7 separate regions of the Homo sapiens genome follow, and regions 1, 3, 4, 5, 6 and 7 are each linked to region 2. The links are contacts of gene promoters, found by promoter capture Hi-C in blood cells and fetal thymus (Javierre and others, 2016). All regions are on one chromosome and are shown on one strand. Each heading gives the region's core, a stretch centred on a gene start or on the middle of the fragment in contact. The rest is flanking DNA. Distances are from core to core; before and after follow the strand shown.

The links. The method cuts DNA at HindIII sites, captures the fragments that hold promoters and counts their contacts. A CHiCAGO score of 5 or more calls a contact.
Region 1: a fragment that was not itself captured here is called in contact with the fragment with the promoter of INTS6L in region 2 in 2 of 17 cell types (total B cells and neutrophils); the score reaches 5.8 in total B cells.
Region 3: a fragment that was not itself captured here is called in contact with the fragment with the promoter of INTS6L in region 2 in 1 of 17 cell types (total B cells); the score reaches 6.3 in total B cells.
Region 4: a contact is called between the fragment with the promoter of CT55 here and the fragment with the promoter of INTS6L in region 2, in 10 of 17 cell types (endothelial precursors, M2 macrophages, activated CD4 T cells and 7 more). The highest score is 8.8, in endothelial precursors.
Region 5: a fragment that was not itself captured here is called in contact with the fragment with the promoter of INTS6L in region 2 in 2 of 17 cell types (naive CD4 T cells and activated CD4 T cells); the score reaches 5.7 in naive CD4 T cells.
Region 6: a fragment that was not itself captured here is called in contact with the fragment with the promoter of INTS6L in region 2 in 1 of 17 cell types (total B cells); the score reaches 5.9 in total B cells.
Region 7: a fragment that was not itself captured here is called in contact with the fragment with the promoter of INTS6L in region 2 in 9 of 17 cell types (neutrophils, naive CD8 T cells, naive B cells and 6 more); the score reaches 12.1 in neutrophils.

What each region holds. Positions count from the first base shown.
Region 1 is chrX:135,088,918-135,092,266 of GRCh38, reverse strand. No RefSeq gene overlaps it. Among named protein-coding and RNA genes, the nearest start is that of SMIM10L2B, 8.1 kb to the left of the region's middle. The HindIII fragment of the contact is 620 bases long and covers 1,160-1,779 here.
Region 2 is chrX:135,518,787-135,522,195 of GRCh38, reverse strand. It overlaps INTS6L (integrator complex subunit 6 like), which reads right to left and starts at 1,536. Exons shown (of 18, transcript NM_001351601.3): 1 at 1,093-1,536; 2 at 878-955. The coding sequence starts at 1,203. It overlaps INTS6L-AS1 (INTS6L antisense RNA 1), which reads left to right and starts at 1,522. Exons shown (of 2, transcript NR_046740.1): 1 at 1,522-1,629; 2 at 1,824-2,113. RefSeq lists silencers at 433-632, 693-962 and enhancers at 1,213-1,272, 1,303-1,382. The HindIII fragment of the contact is 2,771 bases long and covers 1-2,096 here.
Region 3 is chrX:135,044,364-135,047,552 of GRCh38, reverse strand. No RefSeq gene overlaps it. Among named protein-coding and RNA genes, the nearest start is that of RTL8A, 6.2 kb to the left of the region's middle. The HindIII fragment of the contact is 3,140 bases long and covers 1-2,965 here.
Region 4 is chrX:135,170,013-135,173,348 of GRCh38, reverse strand. It overlaps CT55 (cancer/testis antigen 55), which reads left to right and starts at 1,951. Exons shown (of 6, transcript NM_001031705.3): 1 at 1,951-2,271. The coding sequence starts at 2,178. The HindIII fragment of the contact is 3,215 bases long and covers 1-2,937 here.
Region 5 is chrX:135,105,921-135,109,181 of GRCh38, reverse strand. No RefSeq gene overlaps it. Among named protein-coding and RNA genes, the nearest start is that of SMIM10L2B, 8.8 kb to the right of the region's middle. The HindIII fragment of the contact is 6,245 bases long and covers 1-3,261 here.
Region 6 is chrX:135,956,351-135,959,651 of GRCh38, reverse strand. No RefSeq gene overlaps it. Among named protein-coding and RNA genes, the nearest start is that of MMGT1, 16 kb to the left of the region's middle. The HindIII fragment of the contact is 4,472 bases long and covers 1-3,301 here.
Region 7 is chrX:135,979,110-135,982,708 of GRCh38, reverse strand. It overlaps a transcript of SLC9A6 not described here. Among named protein-coding and RNA genes, the nearest start is that of SLC9A6, 4.5 kb to the left of the region's middle. The HindIII fragment of the contact is 3,139 bases long and covers 464-3,599 here.

The sequences.
Region 1 (3,349 bases), core at 220-2,719, 430 kb after region 2:
TCACCTCACCCACTTCACACATTAGGATATTTATTTATTTATTTATTTATTTAGAGACAGAGTCTTCAATGCCCAGGCTGGAGAGCAATGACACAATCTCAGCTCACTGCAACCTCTGCCTCCTGGGTTCAAGTGATTCTCATGCCTCAGCCTCCCAAGTAGCTGGGATTACAGACGTGCACAACCACACCTGGCTAGTTTTTGTGTTTTTTGTAGAGGCGGGATTTCACCATGTTGGCCAGGCTGGTCTTGAACTCCTGGCCTCAAGTGATCAACCCTCCTCAGCCTCCTAAAGTGCTGGAATTACAGGTGTGAGTCACCACGCACAGCTCAACTTTTTTTAAAAAAATTAAAATAACACGTGTTGGTGAGGATGTGGAGAAATTGGAACCCTTGTTCATTACTAATGGGCATGTAAACTGGTACAGCAGCCACTGTGGAAAACAGGTGGTTCCTCAAATAGTTAAACCTAGAATTATCCTATAGCCCAGCATTTCCACTCCTAGGTACATACTCAAATGACTGAAAGCTGGTACTCAAACATGAATTTTCATAGCAGCACTATTTACAATAGCTAGAAGGTGGAAACAACCCAAATGTCTATCAGTCTATCAACTGATGAATGAATAAACAAAACTTGGTATATTTATACACTGGAATATTATTCAGCCCCAAAATAATCCCACAATGAAGGATTTGATACATATTACAAGGTGGATGAACTTTGAAAATATTATGCTAAGTGAAAGAAATCAGACACGAAAGATTACAAATTTTATGATTCCATTTATATGAAATGTCTAGAATATGTAAATTCATACAGACAGAAAGCAGATTAGTGGTTGCCATGGTCTAGGGGAGGGAAGGATGGAGAGTGACTGCTTAATGAGTACAGGGTCTCCTTTTAGGGAGATGAAAATGTTTTGGAACTAACAGTGGTGATGGTTACACAACATTGTGAATGTACTAAATGCCACTGAATTATACATTTCAAAATGGTTGATTTTATGTTATGTGGATTTCAACTCAATAATGAAAACAAAATTTGCTGACACATTTTACTATCTCACCACTGGGCCTTTTCCATAGATGAACTTCTCTCCTGGCCTTTCATTCAATCCCCTGCAGCCCTTGTCCTGCCCCTGTGGTATAAAAAGCTTACAAAAGTAGCCCCATCCCATTAGTTCCCAAGCAATCCTAGCCCTCAACTCCTTCCCCATTAGGGTGGCTCAGAGAGTGGGAATCTCTAGTGAACGATGGGATCATTGAGGACTGATCTGGCCATATTCCTCAACTGCCTGACCAGTGGAGAACAGCACAGACTCCTTGACTCTTCCTCCTGGCCTCCTGTTTTGGAGAAAAAGCAGAACATTCCCCTCCCATGCTGGCAGGCTCGCCCACACTGCCTTTAGTCTGGGCTCCTGGCTCTAACCCTGGGGCCTTCTCCTTGGACATGGATGTCTTGGCCTTGTAGTTAATGGATGCCACAAACACATGAATGCCTGACCCTCTGGACACAACCCCACATCATCTCACATTCCCAGTTCCTCCCAGGAAGAGGATCAAGTGACAAGCAGGACCCCAGGCAACAGCAACCAGCCGAGGCGGCTCAGTCACTTGCCACAATATTTAAATATGACATTGATGAAGAGCAGACATTGAGTCTGTATTAGTCTATTCCTACACTGCTATGAAGAAATAACCAAGACTGGGTAATTATAAAGAAAAAGGGTTTACTTGACTCACAGTTCTGCATGGCTGGGGAGGCCTCAAGAAGCTTACAATCATTGTGGAAGGGGAAGCAAACACATCCTTCTTCACAAGGTGGCAAGAGAGAGAAGTGCCGAGCAAAGGGGGAAAAACCCCTTATAAAACCATCAGATTTCATGAGAACTCACTCATTATCATGAGAACAACATGGGGTAACCAAGCCCATGATTCAATTACCTCCCACCGGGTCCCCTCCACCACATGTGGGGATTGTGGGAACTATAATCCAAGATGAGATTTGGGTGGGGACACAGCCAAACCATATCATTCCACCCCTGGCCCCTCCCAAATCTCATGTCCTCACATGTCAAAACACAACTATGCCTCTCCAACAGTCCCCTAAAGGCTTAGCTCATTCCAGCATTAACCCAAAAGTCCAAATCCAAAGTCTGAGACAAGGCAGTTCCCTTCTACATAAGAGCCTGTAAAATTGAAAGCAAGTTAGTTACTTCCTAGATATGATGTGGGTACAGGCATTGGGTAAATACATACATTCTAAATGGGAGAAATCGGCCAAAACAAAGGGGCTACAGGCCCCATGCAAGTCCGAAATCCAATAGGCCAGTCATTATGCCTTAAAGTTCCAAAATTATCTCCTTTGACTCCATGTCTCATATCCAGGTCATGCTGATGTCCACGGCCTTGGGCAGCTCTGCCCTTGTGGCTTTGCAGGGTACAGCCCCCCTCCCAGCTGCTTTCACAGGCTGGCATTGAGCATCTGTGGCTTTTCCAGGCACACGGTGCAAGCTGTTGGTGGATCTGCCATTCTGGGGTCTGCAGTCTGGAGAATGGTGGCCCGCTTCTCACAGGTCCACTAGGCAGTGCCCCAGTGGTGACTCTGTGTGGGGGCTCCAACTCCACATTTCCCTTCTGTACTGCCCTAGCAGAGGTTCTCCATGAGGGCTCTGCCCCTGCAGGAAACTTCTGAATGGACATCCAGGCATTTCCATATATCCTCTGAAATCAAGGCAGAGGTTCCCAAACCTCAGTTCATGACTTCCGTGCACCCACAGTCTCAACACCACATGGAAGTCACCAAGGCTTAGAGCTTGCACCCTCTGAACCAATGGCCTGAGCTGTACCTTGGCCTCTTTTAGCCACAGCTGGAGCTGAAGCACCTGGGACACAGGACACCATGTCCTGAGGCTGCACAGAGCAGGGTGGCCCTGGGCCTGGCCCAGGAAACCATTGATCCCTCCTAGGCCTCCAGGCCTATGATGGGAGGGGCTGCCATGAAGGTCTCTCACATGCCCCGGAGACATTTTTCCCATTGTCTTGGTGATTAACATTCAGCTCCTCGCTACTTATGCAAATTTCTTCAGCAGGCTTGAATTTCTCCCCAGAAAATGGGGTTTTCCTTTCTGTCACATCATCAGGCTGCAAATTTTCTAAATTTTTATGCTCTGCTTCCTCTTGAACATTTTGCCACCTAGAAATTTCTTCCACCAAATACCCTAAATCATCTCTCTGAAGTTCAAAGTTCCACAGATCTCTAGGGCTGGGGCACAATGCTGCCAATCTCTTGTCATAGCAAGAGTGACCTTTACTACAGTTCCCAACAAGTTCCTCATCTCCATCT
Region 2 (3,409 bases), core at 287-2,786:
GGCACGTCCCCCTCCGTGTCGTTGCTTCGCTGGAATTTCCAATGAAACAGTAACAGTAGCTAAGGTAACTGAGAGCGGGGCTGAACCTGGCCAATTCCGGAGCAGAAACGCAAAGACTTTCTCCGGGTCTGGGGGTGGGGAGACTGGCGTCGCGGACAGATTTCCGATTGCGCGGGGGTGGTGAGAGGCCAACGAGTGCAAAGGCGGTTGTCTAGTCTTTGAAGGCCGGCGGCTGGCTCTGCCACGCTCTCAGCAGGAAGGGGAGGGGACCAGGAGGAAGAGGGGGAGAAGGAGGAGATGCAGCGAAGAGCCCAAGGAGGGGGAGGAAGACCGGGGGAGGAAGGAGGGGCCAGAGGAGGAGCCCAGGCTCCGGGAAAGCCCGCGCGCCCGGCCGGCAGGACCTCGGGGCGGAGTCGCAGGCTCCGTCCGGCCCCCCGCGCGGCGACCCTCGCGCGGTGCGCCTCGAAGGGGCGGGCCCGCCTCGCAGCCTCCCTCCGGGTTTCGGGCCCTCCTTCCCCGCTCCTCCCTCCCCTCCCTCCTTTCCATCTCAGCAGCGCCCTCAGTCTCCCTCTCGCAGGCTCATACAAAAGCAAAATGTCCGCCATGTTCCGAGGCGGCTGCGGTTGTCGCGCCACGAGCTCGGCCCTCCTGCGGTTTCTCCCCGGGGCTGCTCCTCCCCGGTCCCCTCTCCCCGACCCCAGGCGCGACAGCTACTCCGAAGCCGCCGACGGCACCACTCCGCCCGCCCTCTGCGCACCCCCTCGCCGCCCGCCCCGCCGGGCGACGCAGGACCGCCTTAGGCGGGGGCAGGGGGGTAAGCAGCCCCCGCCGACTTGCTCCCGCTTCCCGCCTGTCCCCCCACCCGTAGCCCCTTTACCTTGATGCAGTACGGGGGTTCGTCGTAGGTGACCAGCATGTACCTGTCTCCACGGCTGGCCGGGTCCCGGGCGCGCAGCTGCGGGGCAAGGGATGACGGAGGGGGTCGCGTAGGAAAGGAGGGGGGAGGGCGATACAAACGTTACAGAAGCACCTCAATCCACACCCTGAAATCCCTCGGGAGCTCTCCCCATCTCTCCCCTCCCCTCCCTTTACCTTCAAGAATAACTCCACAGCGCCTTTGGCAATGTCCAAATAAGAGGTGCCCAGGTCAGTGCGCTGGTTCATAGAGGCGGACGTGTCTATGAGGAACAGCAGGATGGGCATCTTCCCCCGCACTCCTGCCTCCGCTCCCCACTCTCCCGGCCCTCTTGCCCTCACTGCCGCGTACGGCCACCTGAACCCTCAACTCTCGCAGAGCCGGGGAGCAAGGAGCAAGAGGAAGAGGGGGAGACGGGACGGGACGGGACGGATGGGACCGCTCCTGGCCTCCTCTTTCTGCAGCCCCACCTCCTCTCCCTCCAAGGGAACTTGAAAGTGTGAGCGTGTGTAGCCCTCGGGGCCCTCCCCCTTCCTCTCTTCTGCTGCCACCACTACTGCCGCTGCCAGGACTACTGCCTAAGCATCCGTCCGCGCTCACTAGAGCGCTCGCCCCAGACTGAGCGCCGTCTCTGTTCACTGACAACTTCTGTCTGCTCACCTACCATCGGCACCATGTGACCAGAACCCATGCCATTGGCTGCCAATTATGTGGTATTTGCATATTCATTAGATGACAGGACTAGGGGAGGGACTTGGGCGAACCCTGGGAGTTGAAGTTTGAACCCAGGCAGAGGGTAAGGGGAAGTGTTACGGACCCTCGCTAGGATTCTCCTTTAAAGGACTTGGAAGCAGTTCGAATGATTAGTTCGGGTGGTTTAAATGGATTTTTCTGTCTCTCTTCAAAGATGGTGATTCGAAAAGAAGAGTGAATTTGAGCAACAGTTGTACAGAAGTACAGAAGCAGATGCTTGGACAGTTTGCACAGAAAATTCTTCGCTAACTGCAATCGATCAATCCTGCCAGTGGCGAAGACGAAAATATTTCAGAAGCAGCAAACTTCTTTCCTGGCAGGACGTACTCACATTCCTTTAGATCCCTCCCCCGTCTTGATCAGTATTTGTGAGTTGGTTGCTGGCCTTGCATTCCACATATATCTACTTAGAAAGGAAACTAAAGCTTAAACACAGTTACAGTTACCTAAACTGGCCTTTTGTATGCACAAGCTTCTTCAGTTTCACTAAGCTCTTTGAAACATTGGCCTGCCTGTGATAATTCCACCACTGTTCCCTCTGCGCAGCCTTTACACATGGAGGTTTGCAAACCTAGATTGTGATTCAACTCACATATTTATTTATTTATTTATTTTTATAAATAAATAAAGAGGATCTCGCTTGATCGCCCAGGCTGGAGTGCAGTGGCCCCATCATAGCTGCCTGCAGCGTCCAGCTCCTGGGCTTAAGCGATCCTCCCATCTCAGCCTCTCAAGTAGCTGGGACCACAGGGGCAGGCTCTCAACTCACATTTATTGAGTGCCTATGAAGAGCCAGGCACCCACGGTAGCCTTGTTTAATCTTTGAATTAATTATGGCAGATGGCATTGTATTCAATTTTCAGTAGAGGAAAATGCAGCTCCCTGAGGTTAGGGTAACAATTACGGATACTCTCAGGTCTGGCTCTGTGAAGAGACTCAGTAAGTGGCCAACCACACTTGATTGACTACTTCATATGACACAATTTTAAAAATTGGACTTGTGTATTCCTGGCAATTACTATTGACAATGTGGAATCCAGGACTTCAATGAGTTTGCAGTTTCATTGAGGAGAGATGATGACATATACATACATAATATTTTATATATTTTGGCCAGGCGCAGTGGCTCATGCCTGTAATTCCAGCACTTTGGGAGGCCGAGGTGGGTGGATCATTTGAGGGCAGGAGTTTGAGACCAGCCTGGCCAACATGGTGAAACCCCCGTCTCTACTAAAAATACAAAAATTAGCCGGGCATGGGAGCAGGCGCCTGTAGTCCCAGCTACTTGGGAGGCTGAGGCAGGAGAATCACTTCAACCCAGGAGACGGAGGTTGCAGTGAACTGAGATCACACCACTGCACTCCAGCCTGGGCAACAGAATGAGATAACATCTCAAAAAAGTATTTTATATATTTTATATACACTCTCTCTCTCTCTCTCTCTCTCTATATATATATGTATGTTCTGTGTATATGTTTCATATATTATATATGCACATTCAATAACATTCTCAGAGAAATACGATTTTAAAAGAAGTCATATGGCAGTATATGAATCAGGGACAAACAAGGATGCAAGTTAAAAAGTGCTATGGAAACAATGGTCCAGTCTAGAAATTCATAGGATTTCACGAACAAGGCACAAAAAGGGAAGAGAGGGAATCTGGGTTGGAAGGAATGATATGAACAAAAACTCAGCCAAAGATAGTACTATGTATGGTGCATTTCAGGCCATTCTGGT
Region 3 (3,189 bases), core at 146-2,645, 470 kb after region 2:
CAGATCTAAACACAATCTGAATCCCAGAGCCAAGCCCACATGAACTGCATCCTGGAGAAGAATAGCCCCAGATGGCCCATAGCACATGAGCAAAGAGAGCAAATGATTGTTAATTAATTTGGCGGAGATTTCTTATACAGCATTATTGTAGCAATAGCTGACTAATACTGAAACCAACAATGGATTTTGAATTATCCTGAGGCTAGCAACAGTAATGAGCTGTTGCCTCCCACCAAGGCATGAAAGGGTAAGGGCAGGGAGGGGTTACTGGAACACAGAGAGCTCTAGCTATAGAAGAGAATCCCTGGAAAGGACCTGTGGCCTTTGATAGAGGAACTCAGCCACAGCCACCTCTTAATCTGGTAGAGATGGAGCTCTACCATTGGACAAACTCAACCAGAAGCCAGAGAGCAAGGGAATGGTTTATGCAGTCCATAAAGGTCAGCCTCTAGGAACAGAGCTGACCCTGTTCCAGGATAGAGGAGAGTGGAAAGTGAATCTGGAAGAGCAAATGGAAGGTATCCAAGAGATATGTGAACAATCAATTCCAAGTGAGAAACATTTGAAAAGATGGATAATTGCAATAGTAATCAGAGAGATTTTAAATAGAACAAAAACAGTATCATTTCAAAAGCATTACATTGCCAAATTAGACCGGGCATGGTGGTTCATGCCTGTAATCCTAGCACTTTGGGAGGCCAAGGCGAATGGATCACCTGAGGTCAGGAGTTCATGACCAGCCTGACCAACACGGTGAAATCCCGTCTCTACTAAAAATACAAAAATTAGCCAGGTGTGGTGGTGTGTGACTGTAATCCCAGCTACTCGGGAGGCTGAGACAGGAGAATCGCTTGAGCCCGGGAGGCGGAGGTTGCAGTGACCCGAGATCATGCCACTGCACTCCAGCCTGGGTGACAAAGCAAGACTCCATCTCAAAAAAAAAAAAAGTAAAAATGACCATATTAAGTGTTGAGGGGTTATGGAGAAATGAGAGTTCTTATATACCGCTTATAACAGTGTAGAATAGTACAACAAAATTGGAGATGAATGTGGCAGCACCTTGTACAGTTTAAGACAAACATATCCTACAACCAAGCAATTCCAACAAGGATGTTGACAATAGCATTTTTTAAAAATGTATGTATGATTAGTACCTCTGCTAAGCTGCATAGTACCTTTATCTAAATTAATAAAAGGTACCTCCTCTTGGGGAAAGCAGCCCCATGAATGCTGAGTTTGTTAAACTGTTAGTAATTTTGTGCTTCAAAAAAAGCAAACCTTATTAAGTGTGTATGCAGCCCCACTGGTTCACATGGTGGACTGGGTAGGGGCTAGATTGTAGCCTCAGTCACTCATTTGGTAAGAGGCACTTCTGAAGTGAGCAACCTATAGATCATAAGCAGCAGCCCTGTTTGCAGTAGCCAAAATTTGAAGCAACATAAGTGTCATCAGTAGGAGTTGGTGATAATATGTAATTATTAATATTGTTAAGCAGAGAGTTGCCATACAGTAATTCTATTCCTAGGTATATATCCAAGAGAACTGAAAATATATGACCTCACAAAAACTTGTACATGAATGTTCATAGCAGCATTATTCATAATAACAAAAAATGAGAAACAACCCAAAACTCCAGAAACTGATGAATAGATAAAATATAGTATATCCGTTCAATGGAATTCAACCTTAAAAAGGAATGAATGCTACATACATGCTACAACTTGGATGTACCTTGAAAACATAATGCTAAATAAAAGAAACCAGTCACAAAATACCACATATTGTATGATTCCATTTAAATGAAACTTCCAGAATACACAAATATATAGATGTGGAAAATCATTTAGAGGTTGCCTGGGGCTTGGGGAAGGAGAAAATAGGGAGGCATAGGGTATTTTCTTGGGGTGATAGAAATGTTCTAAAATTAGATAATGGTAATGGTTGGACAACTCTGCAAGTATACTAAAAACCACTGACTTGTATATTTTTAAAGGGTAATATTATAGTAAGTGAATCATATCTCAATAAAGCTGTTATAAAAAATTAATTGTATTTCTATTTAATAACAACAAAGTAGAAATAAAATTTAACAAAATAATACCATTTATGGTTGTGTTATAAAGTATCAAATATCTAGAAATAAATCTATAAAATAGCTGCAATACCTCAACACTAGTAACTACAAAACATTATTAAGATGAATTAAACAACTAAATAAATGGAAGGATATAAGATGTTAATGAATTGGAAAATTCAAAATTGTTACAGTATATATTTTCCCTAAATTTATTTTTAGATTCAATGCAATCCCAATAAAAATCAAGCAGATTTTAGAAGAAAACATAAGAGTAGAGTGTATCTTCATGATATTGGGTTAGACAAAGATTTCTTACACAAAAGACATTGGTAAGTGACTCTAAAATTTATATGGAAAGGCAAAGGATCTAGAATAGCCAAGGTAATATTCAAGAAGTACAAAGTTAGATGGCTTACATTATCAGATATTAAGACTTACTATAAAGGAACATAAATTAAGGTGTATGGTATTGGTACAAGGATAGACAGAAAAATGCAATACAATAAACAGTCCAGAAAGAAATTCACACATATATGGTGACCTAATTTATAACAAAGGCACCATTGCAATTCACTGGGGGGAAAGAATAGTCTTTGCAATAAGTGCTATTGGATCAATTAGATACCTATATTGAAAAATGAACATTGGTCCCTACCTCTCAGCATACATAAAAATTAATTCAGTATGGATCATAGACTTAAATTTGAAAGCTAAAATACGATATTAGAGGAAAGTATAGGAGACTATGATATTAAGTTTGGCAGAGATGTATTAAACAGGACACAAAAAAACACTAATAATGTCTGCCCTCCCAGATAAAATGTTTATTAAGACACTCAGCATACAATTAGCCCTGCTTCCTGACAGCATCCAAGCCAGAGCAAAGCTTCACTTCCTTAAACTTCTCAAAAATCACCTAATATACGCCCAAACACTTCAAACATTTTCTAACACCTTTTTGCTGAGATTCCCAACAGTTCTCTATGGTATGTTCTCCTTCACTGCAATGAATAATAAACTCAATATTTGTTCAATGACAAGATGTCCCTAGTGGTCTTTTCCTGGAAGATATGAACATCAAGAATATAGGAAGTCCTAGCAAGAGCAATCAG
Region 4 (3,336 bases), core at 702-3,201, 350 kb after region 2:
GGTGCCAGGAGTTTCACAGAGGGGCTCCTGTTTCATGGCCTGTGTTTTCTCAGAGAAATAAGAGGAAATGTGTGCTTACCTGTGTGTCCTAATTTTTCATTGATAATCATAGAATATTGGAGTAATCAAAATTTACAAGAGCAGTTGCTGTGGGTTGAATTTTGCCCTGAAAGAGATATGCTCAGGTTCTGAGCTCCAGTACCTGTGAATGTGACTTTATTTTGAATAGGGTCTTTGCAAAAAAAAAAAAAAAAAAATCAAGTTAAGATGAGGTCCTACAGGATTGGGATTAGTCATATACCCTTAATCCAGTGAGTGGTGTCCTTATAAGAAGAGGTGTATTGGACACACAGACAGATGGAGAAGAGCACCATGATATGAAGGAGGAAGAGATTGGAGTGATGCATCTACAACCGAAGGAAGCCAACCGATGACTACTGGCAACCTACGGAATCTTGGAATAAACTCTCCCTCAGAGCTTGCCAGAAAGAACCAACCTCACGGAAACCTTGATTTCAGACTCATAGCCTGCAGAACTGCAGAAGAATAAATTTCTGTTGTTTAAAGCCACGCAGTCGTAGTAATGTGTTGTGGCCTCCCTAGGAAATTAACACAGTTGTGTTACATTTTGAGACATAGATAGCCCTCAACCGATCCTGTTAACCAGATGATAATCTTCAGCAATGCTCTTACCTGTTCTCACAGTAGGAGAGGAAAGACAAACAGGTTTCATCCACAGTGCCCATGGATTGCATCAGAATCATCCAAACTGTTCTCCTTGCTTCCTGCTCTGACCTCTTCCAGCCTGTTCACAACCAAGCACCTGGAGTGATCCCTGGAGGCTCCAAATCCTTCAGGGACTTTACGTGTCATGGACAATAAAAGCCAAAGGACTTCCAGTGCCCCACTATCCCACATGCAGCCTGAACCTCTATTATCTCTCTTACCATACTTCCCACTCTTCTAGCTATTCACTGCCTCTGCTCTAATCACTGCTTTTCTTTGAATACATCACGCACAGTCTTGCTGTATGGTCTTTGCACAAACTGTGCCCTCCGTCTGAACGGCTCCTCCAAAAATAGCTGCCTGGCTAACTCCAACATCTTTCTCAACTATTGCTTTCCAATGAGGGCTACTCTGACCATGCTATTGTAAAGTGCAATCCAATACCCCATGCCCAGCACTGTGGATCTCCCTTGTCCTGCTATATTTTTCCATGGCATTTATTGCCTTCTAACATACCATATATTTTATTATGTGATGTTTAGTGTCACCCTTTCGTCATCCTGTGAAAAATCTACCCTCACAGGGTGAAGATTCTTGACTCTTTCATTCATTAACAAATTTTAGGAACACAGAACAGTGTCTGGTTCACAGTTAGTGCCCTACAAGTTTTGCTGAATGAATGAATAAGGGTAATGTGTATATCAGAGTAATGTAAGCATAACCAGGTAAGCGATGAGTACATGGTAGCAATGATCATAAAAGGATTCTATTATAAATTATCACTGGACTAAAAATGGCAGTCCTAGTACACAAGACACGTACTTGCCATCACTAAAACATTGCCTACCCACATGATGCCCTCTCTCCACAAAATTGATCCCTGGTGAGGAGTAACTATTGACCGCCCACTGAGTGGTGACTCCTTATGCTAAGCACCACGAATACAAGGGCAGGAGCAGGATTTTTGGTTGCACAGCCGGTGTTTCAGGCACCCATCCTCCCAGGGAACCCAAGAGAAGAGCCCTGTATCTCCTTAGTAAATGCAGAACCCAAGCTCCCAAGCCATTTTCCCCAGGCCATCCTAATGGCTCCCTCAGCCTTGATGGGAGAAGCCACGATGTTCCCACCCATCGCCTTTTAGTAGCCACAAGAACCTGCCCGCCCACCCACTGCACGCCCATTGGTTGGACAGTGGTAGAGGCGGGCCCTGACGAGCGCATGCTCAGAGGGAGAAGTCAGCGGAGAAGCTGGGAGCTCCTTTGGAGGCTGCGGTGTCCCTGACTCTCCTGAGGGGGGCTCACTAACGGGTGGGTCCCATGCCACAGTGTCTGAGGAGAAGCAGGAAGTGAGTCCCTGAGGAGACGCCGTGACCTGAGGGCTTCCCTTACTGAGGAGGCCTCGTGCTTCATCTGCCACAAGCGGTGCCCAGGCCGGTGGTGACAACTGGGACGATGCTCAGGCTTCTGAGACTTGCTTTGGCCTTCTACGGGAGGACGGCCGACCCTGCAGAGCGACAGGGCCCACAGCAGCAGGGCCTCCCACAAGGTATTCCTCTGTGTGTCCCCTTGTCCCCCACCCCAGAAGCCTCCCAATAGGGGTTCTCCTCACCCCCGGAATGAGGCTGTTGTAACTCGGGTGGGTACTGCACGTGACGGTGGCTCCATCTTGTGCGTGCATGGGGAGGCAACCCGAGGCAACCCGAGTCCTCAACAATTCCCTGAGAACCAACCCCCAAACTCTCCTGTCCATCTAAAGCGGGAAGGTGTTGACAGAGAAGACCTTGGGGTCTGTACCGCCTGTGCTTTTCCCCCACGTGGTCGCACAGCACATGCCTATTTATATTTCCAGTAGGCGAGAAACTCCCTAATTTGCGAGTTAATTTAGGCTTGTATCCCAAACGGGAATGTAATTTGAAGCCAAGTTGATGCCTCATACTTATCTGATCCCAAAGGAAGGCAGAGAACCCCTGCCGGCGACTGCTGAGGTTTGATCCCTAAGTATTGCTGATCAGCTAGGCTTGTGCAGAATAAAAAAAAAAGAAGAAGAAGAAGAAGGAGAAATAAAGAAAACCATTCAGATGCCGTTTTGGGCTAGCCTTCAATCTCCAGATATCTTTTAGTACTTTGTCTGCTGAGATGGTTAAGTATCTATAGAAGGTGCTACTCATCATGTTGGTGATAATGATGAAGGAATATAATAGGAGCAGAAGCTTAAAGACTCATATGTAGAAATGCTAACAGGTAACATTTACACACTCTTGTGCAAGGCACTCAGAGCTCTCGACAGTTGATGTGCATGTGTCAGTTAATATTCGTAAGCTGGGCGCGGTGGCTCACACCTGTAATCCCAGCTCTTTGGGAGTTCCAGGTAGGTGGATCACTTGAGGCCAGGAGCTGGAGACCAGCCTGGGCAACATGGCAAAACCCCGTCTCTATTAACAATTCAAAAATTAGCTGGGTGTGACGGTACACACCTGTAGTCCCAGCTACTGGGGAGGCTGAGACATGAGAACCACCTGAACCCAGGAGGCAGAGGTTGCCGCTAGCCCAGATTGCGCCACTGCACTCCAGCCCCGGCGACAGAGCCAGACTCTGCTCAAAAAATTAAAAA
Region 5 (3,261 bases), core at 469-2,968, 410 kb after region 2:
AATAAGATTGATAGATCACCAGCTATATTAACAAAGACAAAGAAAGAGAAGATCCAAATAAGTACAATCGGAAATGACAAAGGCAATATTACAACTGATCTCACAGAAACACAAAAGATCCTGAGAGATGACTATGAACAACTCTCTGGATACAAACTAAAAATTTACAGGAAATGGATAAATTCCTAGAAGCACACAATCTCCCAAGAATGAATCACGAAGAGATTGAAACCCTGAATAGACCAATATCAACTTCTGAAATTGAATCAGTCATAAAGAATCTACCAACCAAAAGAAGCCCTGGACCAGATGGATTCATAACCAAATTCTATGAGATGTGCAATGAATAACTAATATCAATCCTAGTGAAACTATTCCAAAAAAAATCAAGGAGGAGGGGTTCCTCTCTAACTCATTCCATTAAGCCAACATCAGCCTAATACCAAAATCTGGCAGAGACACAATGAAAAAAGAAAACTTCAGACCAATATCCCTCATGAGCATAGATGCAATAATCCTCAACAAAATATTAACAAACCAAATCTAGCAGCATATCAAAAAGTTAATACACCATGATCAGGTAGGCTTCATTCCTGAGATGCATGACTGGTTCAACATATGCAAATCAATCAACAAGGTTCACCACATAAACAGAATGAAAAGGAAAATCATATGAACATCTCAATAGATGTACAAAAAGTTTTCAATAAAATCCAGCTTCCCTTCATGATGAAAACCTTCAACATACTAAGCATTGAAGGAACAAACTTCAGAATAATAAGGTTCTATGGCAAACCCACAGCCAGGTTCATACTGAGTGGGCAAAAGCTCAAACCATTCTCCTTGGTAACTGGAACAAGACAAGGATGCCCACTCCCACCACCCCTTTTCAACATAGTACTGGAAGTCTTAGCTAGAGCAATCAGGCAAGAAAAAGAAATAAAAGGCATCCAAATAGCAAAAGAAGAAGTCAAACTATCTCTCTTCACTGACTATATGATTCTGTACCTAGAAACCCCTAAAGACTGTGCCAAAAGGATCCTAGAACTGATAAATCACTTTAGTAATGTTTCAGGATACAAAATCATTGTACAAAACTCAGGAGCATTTCTACACACCTGCAATATCCAGGCTGAGAGTGAAATCAAGAACATAACCCACTTACAATAGCTACAAAGAAAATGAAATACCTAAGAATACAGCTAACCAAGGAGGTGAAAGATCTCTGCAAGGACAACTACAAAACAATGATGAAAGAAATCAGAGATGACATAAATAAATTTTTAAAAATTCCATGCTAATGGGTAGGAAGAACTAATATAGAAATGGCCATACTGCCCAAAGCAATTTACAGGTTCAATGCTATTCATATCAAACTGCCAACATCATTCTTCACAGAATTAGAAAAAAAAACTATTCCAAAATTCACATGAAGCCAAAAAGGAGCCTGAATAGCCAATGCAATCCTAGGAAAAAAGTACAAAGCTGGAGGCATCATACTACCCAACTTCAAATTATATTATATACCCACAGAAATCAAAACAGCTTTTTGTACTGGTACAAAAACAGACACATACAGCAATGGAACAGAATAGAAAATTTGGAAATAAGGCCACACATCTACAACCATCTGATCTTCGACAAGGCCGAGAAAAACCAGCAATAGGGAAAGGGCTCCCTATTCAATAAATGGTACTGGGATAGCTGGCTAGTCATATGTAGAAGACTAAAGCTGGAACCCTACCTTTCACTATATATAAAATTTCACTCAAAATCAATTAAAGAGTTAAATGTAAGACCTCAAACTCTAAAAATCCTGGAAGACAGCCTAAAAAATACTCTTCTCAACATCAGCCTTGGCAAAGAATTTTTGACTAAGTCCCCAAAAGCAATTGCAACAAAAACAAAAACGGACAAATAAGACCTAATTAAACTAAAGAGCTTCTACACAGCAAAAGAAACTGTCAATAGAGAAAAAAAAAACACAGATAACATGCATAATGGGATAACATATTCACAAACTATGCATCCAAGAAAGGCCTAATATCTAGAATCTATAGTGAACTTAAATTGACAAGAAAAAACAAATAACTCCATTAAAAATGGGCAAAGGATATGCACAGACACTTCTCAAAAGAAGACATACAGGTGGCCAACAAATATTATAAAATGCTCAATATCACGAATCATCAGAGAAATGGAAATCAAAACCACAGTGATATACCATCTCACACCAGTCACAATGGCTATTACTAAAAAGTCAAAAAATGACAGATGCTGGCGAGGCTGCAAAGAGAATGCTTATACCTGTTGATAGGAATGTAAATAAATTCAGCCACTGTGGAAAGTAGTCTGCAGATTTCTCAAAAAACTTAAAACAGCTACCATTCAACCCAGCAATCCCATTACTGGTATATACTCAAATGAAAATAAATCATTATACCAAGAAAACACATGCACTCATGTGTTCATGGTTGCACTATTCACAATAGCAAAGATACTGAATCAACCCAGGTGCCCATCAATGGTAGATTGGATAAAACAAATGTGGCACAAATACACCATGGAATACTATGCAGCCATAAAAAAGAATGAAATCTTACTACTTTGCAGAAACATGGATGGAGCTGGAGGTCATAATCCTAAGCGAATGAACACAGGAACAGTAAACCAAATAGCACATGTTCCAGCTCAAAAATGGGAACTAAACATTAAGCACACATGGATATAAATATGGAAACAATAGACACTGTGGACTACTAGAAGGGGGAGGAGGGAGGAAGGGAGAAGGGTGAGTTGAAAACCGATCTGTTGGATACAATGCTCACTAGCTGGGTGACAGGATTCATATCCAAAACCTCAGCATCACACAATATTTCCATGTAACAAACCTGCAAATGTACCCCTGTGTATCTAAAATAAAAGCTGAGACTGGGCACAGTGACTCATGCCTGTAATTCCAGCACTTTGGGAGGTTCAGGTGGAAAGATTGCTTGAGCCTAGGAGTTTGAGACCAGCCTGGGCAACATAGTGAGACCCCCATCTCTACACAAAAAAATTTTAATTAGCGGGGCATGGTGGCATGGCCTGTAGTCCCAGCTGCTCAAGAGGCTGAGGCAGGATTGCTTGAGCCTGGGAGGCAGAGGTTGCAGTGAGCCAAGATCGCATGACTGAACTCCAGCTTGGGTGACAGCACAAGAGCCTGTCTCAGAAAATAAAATAAAATAAAAGTTGAAATTTAAAAATAAATAAATAATAATG
Region 6 (3,301 bases), core at 398-2,897, 440 kb before region 2:
ATGAGGCATTTGACACAATGAGCCAATGTCAATACATTATTATTAGTAGTAGTAGTATTGGTATTACTGGAATGCAATGGCGTGATCTCGGCCCACTGCAACCTCTGCCTCCCAGGTTCAAGCGATTCTCCTGCCTCAGCCACCCGAGTAGCTGGGAGTACAGGCATGCACCACCACGCCTGGTTAATTTTGTATTTTTAGTAGAGACGGGGTTTCTCTATGTTGGTCAGGTTGGTCTCAAACTCCTGACCTCAGGTGATCCACCTGTCTCGGCTTCCCAAAGTGCTGGGATTACAGGCGTGAGCCAACGTGCCTGGCCTAATACATTATTATTAACTAAAGTCCATACTTTATTCAGATTTCCTTTTTTTTTTTTGAGACAGAGTCTCTCTCTGTCACCCAGGCTGGAGTGCAGTGGCGCGATCTCGGCTCACTGCAAGCTCTGCCTCCCGGGTTCATGCCATCCTCCTGCCTCAGCCTCCCGAGTAGCTGGGACTACAGGTGCCCACCACCATGCCCGGCTAATTTTTTGTATTTTTAGTAGAGACGAGGTTTCACGGTGTTAGCCAGGATGTTCTCGATCTCCTGACCTCGTGATCCGCCCGCCTCGGCCTCTCAAAGGGCTGGGATTATAGGCGTGAGCCACCGCGTCCAGCCCCTTTGGTTTTACCTAGTATCCTTTTTGTGTTCTAGGATTCTATCAAGAGGACCACATTACGTTTAGTCATCATGTCTTGGCTCCTCTTGGCTGTGACAGTTTCTTAGACTTCCCTTGTTTTTGATGATCTTGACAGTTTTCAGGAGTGCTGGTCAGGTATTTTGTAGAATCTTCCTCTACTGGGATTTGTTAGATGATTTTTCGGTTATTAAACTGGAGTTGTGTGTGTTTTTGGAGGAAGACCACTAAGGTAAAGTGCTATTCTTATCACATCATATCAAGGACACATTTATACTGCTGATGTTAATCTTGATCACCTGGCTGAGGTAGTGTTTGTCAGGTTTCCCCACTGTAAAGTACTGTTTTTTCCCCTTTCCATACTGTACTTTTTGGAAGGAAGTCACTCTGCACAGCCCACACATAAGGAGTGACATGTTATGCTCCACCTCCTTGAGGACAGAGTATCTACATAACTTATTTGGAATTCTTCTGCATGGGAGATATGCTTCTTCTCCCCCATTTATTCATTTATTTTTATGAGTTTGGACTCATACCTTGCTTTATCCTTTAATACTATATCTTGTTGAAATTGTTCCAGTTTCAGACATTGGTAGCTTTTTCAGTAAACTCCTGTGTCCCTTTGACATATTCCCATCGTTGTCATTGTGAGTTTTCTATTTTTTTTTTTTTATTTGAGTACTTCCTTCCTGGCACTACAAAGATGTTCCGGGCTTGTGTTGTATATTTCCTTCCTCAGTCCTGGAATCAGCCATTTCTCCAAGGAGCATGGTTCCTTTCATTGAAGAATGGTATTACAAACCAAGATCTGGCCACTAGGTTCGCTCATTGCTGCTTGACGTTTCATTGCCTCTAGGCCTTTTCAGCAGACAGATCAAGGAAATATATATGTGCATACTAACCTGTGCATTTATGCCTAAGTGTAAATATGTAACATCTGTATTTCCATTAAATGAAACATGAGTTCATACTGATGTTCAATCCATTACCACATAGATCATTCTAACCTCTTCCCTTTGCTTATCTGTAAACCTCCACTGCAACTGAGAAACCCGACTCCCACCATCGGCTCTCTTCTTGCTTCAACTGTTTAATTCCAGTATACATATAAACTGGCTTCAGAATTGTTAACCCTTTCCCCCACAAGAAACAACTTTATCAGCTAGAGCACAGTGATTATGTAGCTTTGTTGGTTGTTCATTTGTTGCCATTAGTTTCACAGGCTACTCATTTTGAAAGTTACTTAGGTCAGGACCTTTTCCCTCACCTCCTTTGGTGAGATTGTTTCATAAATTTGTGATAAACTTAGATTGTTTTGTAACATTCTACCTTCGATTTTGGTATTCTCCTGACCTCCCAAATGGTTTTTAAAAATGTGTGTACATTAAGGTTCACTTTTTGTTTCTGGAAGTTCAGTGGGTTATGATGGATTCATAATGTTAGGTATCCACAATTGTATTATCACATAGAATAGTTTCACAGCCATAAGAATCCCTGTGCTTCACATATTTATCCTTCCCTCCCCTTCTGCTGAGCCTGTGTTAACCACCGATCTTTTCAGTGTCTCTATAGTTTTGCCTTTTCAAGAATGTCATGTGGTTGGAATCATGCAGTATGTAGTCTTTTTAGACTGGCTTCTTTCACTTAGCAATATGCATTCAGGATTCCTCCATTTCTCTCAGAAGTTTGATAATTCATTTCTTCTTATCTCTGAATAATAGTTTTATTGTATGGATGTTCCCACACTTTGTTTATCCATTCACCTATTGAAGGACATCTTGGTTGCTGCCAGTCTTTGCTGGTTATGAATAAATCTTCCATAAACACTCACATGCAGGTTTTTGTGTGGACATGATTTTTCAAAGTGGTTGGGTGTAAATACCGAGGAGCAGAATTGCTGGGTCATATGATGAGATTATGTTCAGCTTTATAAGAAATTGCCAAGCTGAATGCGGTGGCTCATGCCTATAATCCCAGTACCTTGAAAGGCCAAGACGGGCGATCACTTGAGCCCAGAAGTTCGAGACCACCTGGGCAATATGGTGAAACCCTGTCTCTACACAAAATACAAAAAAATTAGCCAATCATGGTGGTGCATGTCTGTAGTCCCAGCTACTCAGGAGACTGAAGTGGGAGGATTGCTTGAGCCTGGGAGTTCCAGGCTGCAGTGACCCGTGTTCGCACCACTGCACTCCAGCCTGGATGGTAGAGTGAGACCCTGTCTCAAAAAATAAAATAAATAAAAAATAAAAAAATTGCCAAACTGCCATCCAAAGTGGCTGTACCATTTTGCATTCCTATCAGCAATGGACCATTTTGCATTCCTATCAGCAATGGATAAGAGTTCCTGTTGCTCCATGTCTTTGCCAGCAATTGGTATTGTCAGTTTTTGAATTTTAGTTATTAATAGGTGTGTAGTGCTATTTCTTTGTTTTAATTTGCAGTTCTTTAACAACAAATGATGTTAAGCATTGTATGTGCTTATCTGCCATCTGCATTTCTCCTGTGATGAGGTATCTGTTCAGGTCTTTTGCCCATTTTAAAACTGGTTTGTTTGCTTAATTGTTGAGTTGTAAGACTTCTTTGTATATTTTGAATACAAGTCCTTTACACGTGTGGGTTTTG
Region 7 (3,599 bases), core at 784-3,283, 460 kb before region 2:
TGAGCCCAGGAGTTCAAGACCAGCCTGGGCAACATAGTGAAACCCTGTCTCTACAAAATTAACAGAAATTAGCCGGGCATGGTGGCGCGTGCCTGTAGCACCAGCTACTGAGGAGGCTGAGGAAGGAAAAGGGCTTGAGTCCAGGAGATGGAGGTTGCAGTGAGCTGATATTGGGCCAGACTGGGTGACAGAGTGAGACTTTGTCTCAAAAAAAAAAAAAAAGCGAATTGACCAAACTGTACTCTGCATGTCATCACTTCCTTTCCTCTTCTTCCAGGATCTACTCCAACAATCACCGCCCCCCCCAACCCCCGCCCTCCACCTCCACCATCTTCAGTGGCTCCTTCTCTATCATCTCTTTCTGCTCTCCATGAACATTTTCAGGTCTCCTCTGAGAAACACCTTTTCATCCACACCCCTCCAGCTACTGTACTATCTCTCCTTTCCTCTTCATAGATAAGCTTCTCAAAGGAATTGTCTGCATTCTCTGCACTCCCATCCAGGGAGTGCAGGGATAGTCCAGGGATTATCAAAAATCAGACTACAGTCTGAGGGCCAAATCCAGCCTGCTATCTGTTTTTGTATGTCTTGAAACTAAGAATGTTTTTCACGTTTTAAGGGCTGAGAAAAAAAGAATTAAAGAATATTTTGTGACATGTGAAAGTGATATGAAATTCAAATTTCTGTGTCCATCAATAATGGTTTATTGGACATGGCCATGTCCATTCCTTTACTTATTGTCTATGGCTGCTTTAGCACTACAAGGGCAGAGTTGAGCAGTTGCAAAAGAGACTGTGGATTGCAAAGTTTACATATATACTATCTGGCCCTTTGCCAGAAAGATATGCTGACCTCTTCTTTAGTCTCTGCCAATCATTCCTCTACACTTTCATAAGGGGGTGTTTCTGGAACACAAATCCTCTAATGCCCCCTGCCTTGCTTTTGGCTCTGGCTCCTTAGCCTGGCACCCAATGCTCCACACACCCTGCCTCCAGACTGTCTCTTCACCCTTATATCCTGTGCTTATTTCCCAAATATATTTTGCTTCAGCCATTCTGAACTTCTAGTTCCTTGAATGCTTCATGTGGTTTCCTGCCGTCTATGTGCCTTTCCATGTGTTCCTTCTACTTGGATAGTCCTCAACTTTTTCCTCACCTAACTAACTTCTACTTGTCTGACGAAACTCAGATTAAAGATCACCAAATTTTCCAGGATGCCCTCAGGCTGAGTTAGGAGCCTGATATGGTTTGGCTCTGTCTCCCCATCCAAATCTCATGTCAAATTGTCATCCCCACCTGTTGGGGGAGGGACCTGGTGGGAGGTGATTGGATCATGGGGACAGTTTCCCCCATGCTGTTCTTGTGATAGTGAGTGCGTTCTCAGGATATCTGAGGGTTTAAAAGTGTGTGGCGTTTCCCCCTCGCTTTTTGTTTCCTGCTGCCATAAGAAGACACTCCTTGCTTCCTCTTTGCCTTCCACCATGATCGCAAGTTTCCTGAGATCCTCCTCCCCAAGTCATGCTTCCTGTACAGCCTGCAGAACTGTGAGTCAATTAAACCTCTTTTCTTCATAAATTACCCAGTCTTCAGGTAGTTCGTTATAGCAGTGTGAGAACAGACTAATACAGGGCCCCTCTTCAGAAAGGGCTCTATGGCCCCCTGGGAAGATCTCTATCCTAGTAGCTCCCATGATGTACTGTCATGTTTGATTGACAAGTTTGTCATTCAACAGGTCATGAGCATCTTGAAGGCAGGAACTAGGCATTTATTTCCTTACTGACAGCATCTAGCATAAGGCCTAACCAAAACAGGAACTTAATAAAACATATCTGTGCATCAATAAATGTCTCTTAGGCCAAGCATGGTGGCTCACACGTATAATCCTAGCACTTTAGAAGGCTGAGGCAGGAGCATTGCTTAAGGCCAGGAGTTTGTGACCAGCCTGGGCAACATAGTGAGAACTCATCTCTACAAAAATTTAAAAAATTAGCCAGGTATGGAGGTGTGCACCTGTGGTCCCACCTACTTGGGAGGCTGAGGTGGGAGGATTGCTTGAGCCCAGAAGTTCGAGGTTACAGTGACCTATGATCATGCCACTGCACTCCAGCCTAGACAACAGAGTGAGACCACGACTCTAAAAATAATAAATAAATATCTCTTAAATTTAATGAAGTGTCAAAGAAATCTTCATATCTGCAGATAACATTAAATTTCTCCAGGTAGAGAGATTCAATTCAAGGATAAGCTGAAAAGAGAGCTTCACTCAGTGTAATACTAGATGACTGAACAGCATAGATAAGTTTAGTCAACACAGTCATTGATTCGTTGGAGGTGCCTGATAAACACTGAATTAAATAATTCATGTATTGGTAGGAGGCTGAGGCAGGAGAATCACTTGAACCTGGGAGGCCGAAGTTGCAGTGAGCCGAGATTGCACCACTGCACTGCAGCCTGAGCAACAGAGTGAGACTCCGTCTTAAAAAAAAAAAAAAATCATGTATTGGGGGACAGGCTGAAAAACTAGGTTGAAGTCATATTGTGGAAGTCCTCTATGCCACAGAAAATTTTAACTCATTCATTTTCCTGGTCAAAAACCTCCCCAATATTAATTTGGCAACAGAAAAGGGGGTGAATGAAATGTGGAGGCCGAGTGCAGTGGCTCACGCCTGTAATCCCAGCATTTTGGGAGGCTGAGGTGGGCAGATCACTTGAGGTCAGGAGTTCAAGACCAGCCTGGGCAACATGGTGAAACCCTATATCTACTAAAAATACAAAAATTAGCTGGGCGTGGTGGTGTGCGCCTGTAATTCCAGCTACTCGGGAGGCTGAGGTGGGAGAATCGCTTGGACCTGGGAGGTGGAGGCTGCAGTGAGCTGAGATCGTGCCACTGCACTCCAGCCTGAGCAACAGAGCAAGACTCCATTTCAAGAAAAGAAAAGAAATGTGGAAAGGTAAGTACTAGGGAGGCCAGTTAGGAGGTTATAAAGGTCATCTTGCTGAAGAGTAGTGAGGCCTTAACTTAGCAGGTGCAGTAGGAATGCATATGGAAAGTTAGATGCAAAGAGCCAATGCAGAGGTAGGATTAACCTGTCTTGGAATTGATTGGGTGGGTGAGTGGGAGTGCCTGAGGAAGAAGAACTGAGAGATGACTCCAAAGGTTTGAACCTGGATAACTGAAAAACAGAGGGCTGTCAGTAGCATTAATGTGGGAGTCAGAAAGTAGAGCTCAACTATGGACAGGTTGGATTTAAGGGACTGGTAGGATATCCAAGAACGGATGTCAACATAGGCACTTAGGAACTTGGCTCTGCAGTTCAGGAGTAAAGACTGGACCAGTGATGGATTTTTGAGCTATATGCATAATATTGACGCTGTGGGAGCGCCAAAGAAGAGAAGGTATAAAGAGACTTGGACTTAAGGCAGCAGTATAGAAAATGCCTATATTCATGTGGAACAAAGAATAGGTCACAGCTAGTACCCAGGATAAGGATGCTGAGGTTTTCAGTTTTGTTACTGAAATACCAGGGGTCCCGTCTAGGCCCTGCTGCTCACTGCACAGAAAACCAATCACTGAGACAATAAGTACTGCCAAGGAAGAAA